Linked DNA regions of Homo sapiens: region 2 is linked to region 1. The links are contacts of gene promoters, found by promoter capture Hi-C in human tissues and cell types (Jung and others, 2019). All regions are on one chromosome and are shown on one strand. The core of a region is centred on a gene start or on the middle of the fragment in contact, and the rest is flanking DNA. Distances in the headings are between cores, read along the strand shown.

Region 1 (3,884 bases), core at 699-3,198:
CCATTAATATGAACGCCATGCCCCAGCTGTCCCTCGCTTGGAGCCTCTTAAGGCAGGATTGGGAGGCTGCTCCCAGGATTAGCATCCCATCCATTCTCACCTTTCTGGCAGCTTTTCAAGATATCTGGTTCCTCAGCTCCCAGAAGATTCAGGACCCAAAGTTCCTTCCCCTGCTCCAGCTGGGAGATCAACTCCGGCTTAGGGACAGGGAATCCTGTTGAGGATGAGGACACTGGTGAGCTGGCATGGCCCACTGGGCCTTCCAGGCCAGGTGTGGAGAGATGGGCCCTGTGTGCACGTGTGTACGCCTGCACGTGTGTTGGTCAGGGGGCCCGTGGGCTGAGACTAAGTACTGAAGGAGAATCCACTCATCAGCTCTCCTGCCACTGGAGGGACACCAGTGGGGCCACTGGCAACAGGGAGTGAAGTCCCTAGAACTGGGGAGCAAGGCAGGCTTTTCCCATGGGAAATGTTCCTTCTGTAGAGATCAGACTGATACCCGGGGACAAGGGGCAGGACCCTCTTCTTTGGGATCCAAAGAGCCAAAGCAGCCTCCCAAGCTCCTCAGAGGCCCCCACTGCGAACCAGGCCAAGTGCAGAGAGCCTCACCCAGAGAGGCCACGTTCCCATAGTTCTCCAGCATCACATCCCGGTAGAGCGCCCGCTGCTGGGGGCCCAGCTGCCGCCCCTCCGCCTGAGAGAAGTACACGGCCACATCCTGGAAGGTCAGCGGCATCTCCTGCAACAAAACATCGCCGCTGCCCAGGCCATGCCCACGGGGCAGCAGCCTGCACTAAAAGGGCCCTGACCTGGTGGGGCCCCACTACCCAGGGCCCTGCTGTGGTCAGTATGAACTGTGTATCAGCAGGTCCCTGATGGGGCAGCTGAGAGCGCTGAGGACCAGCCAACTTCAGCTACACGGGGACCCAGCTGAGCTCAGAGCCCCTCTCCCTGCAGGAGGGCGAGTCTACCTCTCAGAACCCTTTCCTCACGGTTGCTATGAGCCCCTGGCTGGCCTTACCAGTTGCCGGGCTCACGGCTCCAGAGGAGAGTAGCTTCTGACTGGGATGGGGATGAAGATGAAGAGGTGGGCAGGAAGGAGGGTTAACTCACCTGGTGCCCTGGAAGCTGGAATGTGGCTGCCATTCTGTGTGCATGGGCTGCTGTGGTTTCCAAGAGAAGACAGGAGACTGCCCTGGCCTGAAGTCTCCCCGAACTTACCTTCAGTGGGGAGAACTCAGGCTCAGCCCCATTCAACCAGGGGTGTGGAAGGATGGCCAGGAGGCAGAAGCTGATTGCTGCTGTGGCCTCCTGGGTCGCGGGAGGCAGGTCACTATGCAGCACGGGCCGACGTGCCCTACTGCTCAGTGACTCCTGAAATCCCAGAACGGCCAGAGCCAGAGCCCGGGGGGATCCAGGGACGCCCGGCTAAGGGGTGAAAGCTGGCAGTTCCCGTGGTCCAGACCTGCTGAAGGCCCTGGAAATGGGGTGCAGGGCCGTTCTACCTGCCTGGCCAACCTGGGGCAAAGAGCCACGTGAGGGTGCAGCCTCACCAAGGCTGAGGACGTGAGAAGGAGGCCGCGGGGATGCTGCCGAAGGCCCCAGGCTCCGGGGAGAGGCCGGAAGCCAGCTGTGGTCCTCAGTCCAGCCTTCTAGGGCCGCGCCGCGGTCGCCTCCTCCCGGCCTCTGCAGCCCGTCGGTGGCTCCCGCGGCACCCAGAACAGGCTCCTCCTGGACTGGCCGCCGCCTCCCCGCGCCCTCCCCGCGCCCTCCCCGCCTGCCTGCCCGCTTGGCGCTCCTTCCTGGTCCGACACTGCCCCACCTGTTTGCTCGACCCGGGGAAGCCACCGAGGAAGCGCCGAGGAGCTGCGCAGTCGCACCGAGCCCGGAACGGACCCTCCCACAGAACCGGGTCCAGAGCCGGGGAGGGGGCGGGCTAGGATGAAGAGGGCGGGCCGGGCCGAGCTGCGCACACGCAGGCTTCCCCGCCCCCTGCGGGGCCTCAGTACGCCTCCGAGAACGCCGGGAACCGGAAGCCAGCCGCGGTTCCGCCCGGATTCTTCCGGGGCCGCTCTGGGATGACTGGAGGCCTGCGCCGTCTATGGTCGGGGAGGGGGAGAGCCCACGGCAGCTGAGCGGAGGGTCTGGCGCGGTGACGCTGCGCATCCGGGCCGCGCCGCGCTCGCCCCGACCCTAAACCCTCACCTGAACCCTAACCCCGCTGGGCTCCCGGCTCCCCCGTCGGTCACCATACATCGTGTGTCCCGATTCACCATAACCACCAGAAAGTCGCTTATGAAGATGTTACAATTATCGGGGCTCAGAACACAACGCCCCAAAATGAAGGCCTGGGAGGCAGTTTCCCTCTGACCTTCCCAGGCCTCCAGTCTCAGTTCTTTTCTCCCGCGAGGCTCCTCACAGAGTGAATCCCTTTTACCCAAGGCGAGTCCCAGAGGCCAGACCCCCAAAGCCAGCCACAAAACCTAAAAACACGACTCTGATGTTCCCCCCGCTTTTCTGTGTGAAAACTGGCGGTAAAGGCCGGGCGTGGTGGCGGGCGTCTGTAGTCCCAGCTACTCCGGAGGCTGAGGCGGGAGAATCGCTTGAACCCGGGAGGCGGAGGTTGCAGTGAGCCGAGATCGCGCCACTGCACTCCAGCCTGGGTGACAGAGCGAGACTCCATCTCAAAAATAAATAATAAATAAATAAATAATCCATTTATTTGCCTTTTCTCCAAAAATCTGCCTTTTATGAGTTGGCTTTCAGTGAACCTTCAGAGGGCAAAGAGGAACTTTCCCTTTGGCCCCTACACAATAAAGCATGGTTGAAAAAATAGCACTTGATAAAGGTGAGGAGACCAGCTTAGGAGCAGGGGGAGAAGGAAAGGAAAGCCAAGCCATCTTGTCACCCAGAATATAGTGTAGGCCCTGTACACTGTGTTAGAATCAAGGCAGAAATTTTATATCTGAACTTGAGACGATCAACGAGGATGGAGAATGTCTAGAAGTCTAAAGCACCATGCAAAGTCACACATGATTAAGAAGATGCCTTACATTATTAATATCAGTGCTGGGGAGATTGTGGAGAATTACGCACTGCTATGCTTGAGGAAGCGTGTTTAGTACAATGTTGAAAATGAATTAAGCTGTACATAAAGAGCCTTAAACACTTCAATTAATCTAGGAATCTATCCTATGGAAATAACAAAAATGACAAAGAGAAGGGTGCCCATTCCAGAGTTTGTTGTGTGTGTGGTTTTTTTTAAATAATGGGGAGAATTTGGAAAATAGCTAGTTATTCATAGAAGGGGAAATGGAAGATAATTATGCTTTTTGCAGCACAGAAATAGATAAATCTATTGTCTTCTGTACACTCAGTTGAACATTATGCAGCCATTATGTGTGGTATTTGAAAAAAAAGTATTGGCAGAGGGTAATGCTTATGAAATAGAATGTGAAAAATAGAATACAAAATTATATTTATGATATGATCTCAATTGTATATATGGGTGTTTAAGTTCACAAACTTAAGGTTTCCAGATATAAGGACCTAGGTTGGTTTGTTCACTGCTCAGCCACCAGCCTGGAACATAGTAAGTACTCTATAAATACTTGGGAAGTGCTTGAAAAACGTATATAAAAAGCTGAAAATAAATACATCATTACTAGTTGTAAGATTGCAGAATATTTGATTTCCTCTTTTTCTTTTTCACATCTCCTACAGGGGGCGTGTAATCACTCTGTGACTGGTGGCTGCAGGCTCTCCTAATGGATATTTCCTATTTACAGGGCTACCAACTGCCAAGCATCCAAGCAGTCCCTAGGCAGCAATCCAGCAGCTGACAGGGTTACCGGCGTCAACTGCCACAGATGCTAGGCTGGTTT
Region 2 (3,884 bases), core at 404-2,903, 370 kb before region 1:
TTCCTTCTCCCCCAAGCACAAGTCTGTGGGACTTTTTCACATCTTTAAGTTTTGTTACAAAAGTGTTGTGTTTACTATAACAAATTTTAATAGTAGAAAAGTTAGAGCCGGGCACGGTGGCTCACGCCTGTAATCCCAGCACTTTGGGAGGCCAAGGTGGGCGGATCACGAGGTCGGGAGATCGAGACCATCCTGGCCAACACGGTGAAACCCCATCTCTACTAAAAATACAAAAAAATTAGCCGGGCGTGGTGTTGGGCGCCTGTAGTCCCAGCTACTCTGGAGGCTGAGGCAGGAGAACGGCGTGAACCTGGGAGGCGGAGCCTGCAGTGAGCCAAGATCGCCACCACACTCCAGCCTGGGCGACAGAGCGAGACTCCGTCTCCAAAAAAAAAAAAAAAGAAACCGAAACCCTGGCCTAACCCAAGCACGCACTCCAGATGCTCTACGGGGGCCAGAGTGGGGCCTGAATGGCCGGGGGGTCGCCCTGGGTTGATGGGGGACACAGAGTCCACCTGAGCGCCAGAGCTGCGCTTCAGGAATGACTGTGGGCCCTGTCCCCAGGCAGGTACGTGAGCTTCACAGAACGCAGGGACAGGCCTCTGGCCATGGCCAGCCTTGGAGAAGCCACTCTGACCTCAGCCCCTCCCTGTGCACCTGTGTGTGGTCTGCCCGCTGCCTGGCGCCTCATTCCAGGGCTGCCCAGCTGGTCCCCAGAGTTCTCCCAGGGCTCCCACCCTGATATCCTCCTAACTGGGGCCAGGCCTGGGGACACCCCTCTACCCCATCCTCTTGCCTAAATCTCCCCCAGGAGCCCAGTACCTGCTCAACAGATACCCAGGATGTCCCCCACTTCCTGCCTTAACTGGGCTCTCTTCCCTGCAGACCTTGCCTCCCCAGGCCTTGGAGACCCACCCTCCTGGTGTCCTCCTCTCTTCCTAGTGGACCTCAGGCTGCAGGTGACCTTGACCCTCCTGTGACCTCTGCTGCCTCAGCCCTGCCCCCTTGCTGCCATCCTTTACCTTCACAGACAGCCTTGGAACCCCATCTCTCCAGAGGATGCCACCGTCCATACTGTCCCCTACCCCATCTCACCTGGGCACCCTTGAGGGTGGCAGGGAGTGAGGGTGGCATGGACACAGGCTGCCCATTCTGCAGATCTTTTTTTGTTTTTTGAGACGGAGTCTCGCTCTGTCGCCAGGCTGGAGTGCAGTGGCGCAATTTTAGCTCACCGAAACCCGCCTCCTGACTTCAAGTGATTCTCCTGCCTCAGCCTCCTGAGTAGCTGGCACTACAGGCACGCACCACCATGCCCAGCTAATTTTTGTATTTTTAGTAGAGACTAGGTTTCACCATGTTGGTCAGGATGGCCTCAATCTCTTGACTTTGTGATCTGCCCGCCTCGGCCTCCCAAAGTGCTGGGATCATAGGTGTGAGCTACCAAGCCCAGCCTCTTTTTTTTTTTTTTGAAACCGAGTTTCGCTCTTGTTGCCCAGGCTGGAGTGCAATGGCGCGATCTTGGCTCACTGCAACCTCTGCCTCTCGGGTTCAAGCAATTCTCCTGCCTCAGTCTCCCGAGTAGCTGGGATTACAGGTGTGCACCACCACACCCGGCTAATTTTTTTGTATTTTAAGTAGAAATGGGGTTTCACCATGTTGGCCAGGCTGGTCTTGAACTCCTGACCTCTGGTGATCCACTCACCTCGGCCTCCCAAAGTGCTGGGATTACAGGCGTGAGCCACTGTGCCCAGCTCTGCAGATCTTTTTTGGACGGAGTCTCGCTCTGTTGCCCAGGCTGGGGTGCAGTGGTGCAATCTCAGCTTACTGCAGTCTCCACCTCCTAGGCTCAAACGATCCTCCTGCCTCAGCTTCCTGAGGAGCTGGGACCACAGGTGTGCACCACCGTGCCTGCCTAATTTTTTTGCATTTTTGGTAGAGACAGGGTTTCAACATGTTGCCCAGGCCAGTCTCGAACTCCTGAGCTCAAGTGATCCTCCCAGCACAGCCTCCCAATGTGATGGGATAATTGACATGAGCCACCACACCTGGCCCCGTTCTACTGATCTTGAGCTGAGACTGACCTGCAGGGCCACAGGACACCCCACGAGCTCAGCAGCACCCCTTGTGCTCACACAGGCCTACGCGGCTGTAGGCTGGACCCTGGCTTGGCCTCACCCTTGGGACATGAAGGGCTGGCCGGGGTGAGGCTAGACCATGAGGGCTCTGACAAGAGGACCAAGCACCGGGGCCCCGAGCCTGCCCCGCTGGAGACTGAGGCCACCTCTGCCCGCAGGTCTCTGAAGGTCGGCCTGCAGATCTCCCTGGACTACTGGTGGTGCACCAATGTTGTCCTTCGAGGGGTGGAAGAGGTTTGTCCTGGTGCCCTGGGCACACAGTGGTGGGCATGAGGTGGTGGGCTGGGTGGGACTGAGGAGGCAGCCACCTGTCCCCATGTGTTCTCCCCATGCCTGTGGTCAGAACAGCCCAGGCTACTTGGAGGTGATGTCTGCGTGTCACCAGCGGGCGGCTGATGCCCTGGTGGCAGGGGCCATCAGCAACGGGGGCCTCTACGTGAAGCTGGGCCAGGGGCTGTGCTCCTTCAACCACCTGCTTCCCCCCGAGTATACCCGGACCCTGCGCGTGCTAGAGGACAGGGCCCTCAAGCGGGGCTTCCAGGAGGTGAGTGTGCGCTCAGGCCGAGGGAGGTGGGGCCTCCAGCAGTGGCCCCAGGCTGCTCTGAGCACCTGTCCTTCCAGGTGGATGAGTTGTTCCTTGAGGACTTCCAGGCCCTCCCCCACGAGCTCTTCCAGGAGTTTGACTACCAGCCAATTGCTGCCGCCAGCCTGGCACAGGTGCACAGAGCCAAGCTGCACGATGGCACCAGCGTGGCTGTGAAGGTATATGGGGGCTGCCTTGTTCAGCAGTGGGCTGGGGCGGGGCACAGTGGGGCCCCAAGTTCTCACCACACCCTCGCCCAGTGCAGGTGCAGTACATCGACCTGCGGGACCGCTTTGATGGGGACATCCACACCCTGGAGCTCCTGCTGCGGCTCGTTGAGGTCATGCACCCCAGCTTTGGCTTCAGCTGGGTCCTCCAGGTACAGCCCCACCCCTTCCCCGGCCAGCAGGAGCAAACACGTAGGCAGAGCTGGTAGGAGCAGCTGGTAGGCAGAGCTGGTCTTCAACCGCCATCTGGCCCCCAGGACCTGAAGGGGACCCTGGCCCAGGAGCTGGACTTCGAGAATGAGGGCCGCAACGCAGAGCGCTGTGCGCGGGAGCTGGCGCACTTCCCCTACGTCGTGGTGCCCCGCGTGCACTGGGACAAGTCCAGCAAGGTGGGCTGGGCCAGGCCCTTGGGGTGGGCACAGCGCTGGGCCTGCTGAGCCCAGCCTCTTGCTCTCCCCAGCGCGTGCTCACTGCCGACTTCTGCGCCGGCTGCAAGGTCAACGATGTGGAGGCCATCAGGAGCCAGGGGCTGGCAGTGCATGACGTGAGTGCGGGGGGGCGGGGGCGGGTCAGGGCGGGCTGGTGCTGTGTCCACTGCAATGCCTCTCCTCTCCCCAGATAGCAGAAAAGCTCATCAAGGCCTTTGCTGAGCAGATATTTTACACCGGCTTCATCCACTCGGACCCACATCCTGGCAACGGTAGGAATTTACCCCAGGGGTGGGGGTCTCAGGGTGGGCGCAGCGCGACCTAAGAGGCTGTATCCCTAGTTCTGGTGCGGAAAGGCCCGGACGGGAAAGCGGAGCTGGTGCTGCTGGACCACGGGCTCTACCAGTTCCTGGAGGAGAAGTGAGCGCGGGTGGGTGGGCGTGGGGCAGGGCAAGCCTCTCCTGCCGCAGGGAGCTCATGGCTGCGGGCCCATCCACACCCAGGGACCGCG

What was found. The method cuts DNA at HindIII sites, captures the fragments that hold promoters and counts their contacts. A contact is called where the count stands out against the background at its distance.
Region 2: a fragment that was not itself captured here is called in contact with the fragment with the promoter of ZNF251 in region 1 in 1 of the 25 tissues and cell types used here (H1 embryonic stem cells).

Annotation. Positions count from the first base shown.
Region 1 is chr8:144,753,583-144,757,466 of GRCh38, forward strand. It overlaps ZNF251 (zinc finger protein 251), which reads right to left and starts at 1,949. Exons shown (of 5, transcript NM_138367.2): 1 at 1,823-1,949; 2 at 1,114-1,221; 3 at 610-739; 4 at 101-214. The coding sequence starts at 1,146. It overlaps LOC107986986 (a long non-coding RNA gene), which reads left to right. Exons shown (of 3, transcript XR_001746149.3): 3 at 3,724-3,884. The HindIII fragment of the contact is 22,211 bases long and covers 1-3,884 here.
Region 2 is chr8:144,388,378-144,392,261 of GRCh38, forward strand. It overlaps ADCK5 (aarF domain containing kinase 5), which reads left to right. Exons shown (of 15, transcript NM_174922.5): 4 at 2,294-2,369; 5 at 2,479-2,679; 6 at 2,757-2,897; 7 at 2,984-3,097; 8 at 3,203-3,334; 9 at 3,406-3,489; 10 at 3,564-3,645; 11 at 3,715-3,793; 12 at 3,877-3,884. Among named protein-coding and RNA genes, the nearest start is that of MIR939, 3.9 kb to the right of the region's middle. RefSeq lists an enhancer at 72-573. The HindIII fragment of the contact is 8,607 bases long and covers 1-3,884 here.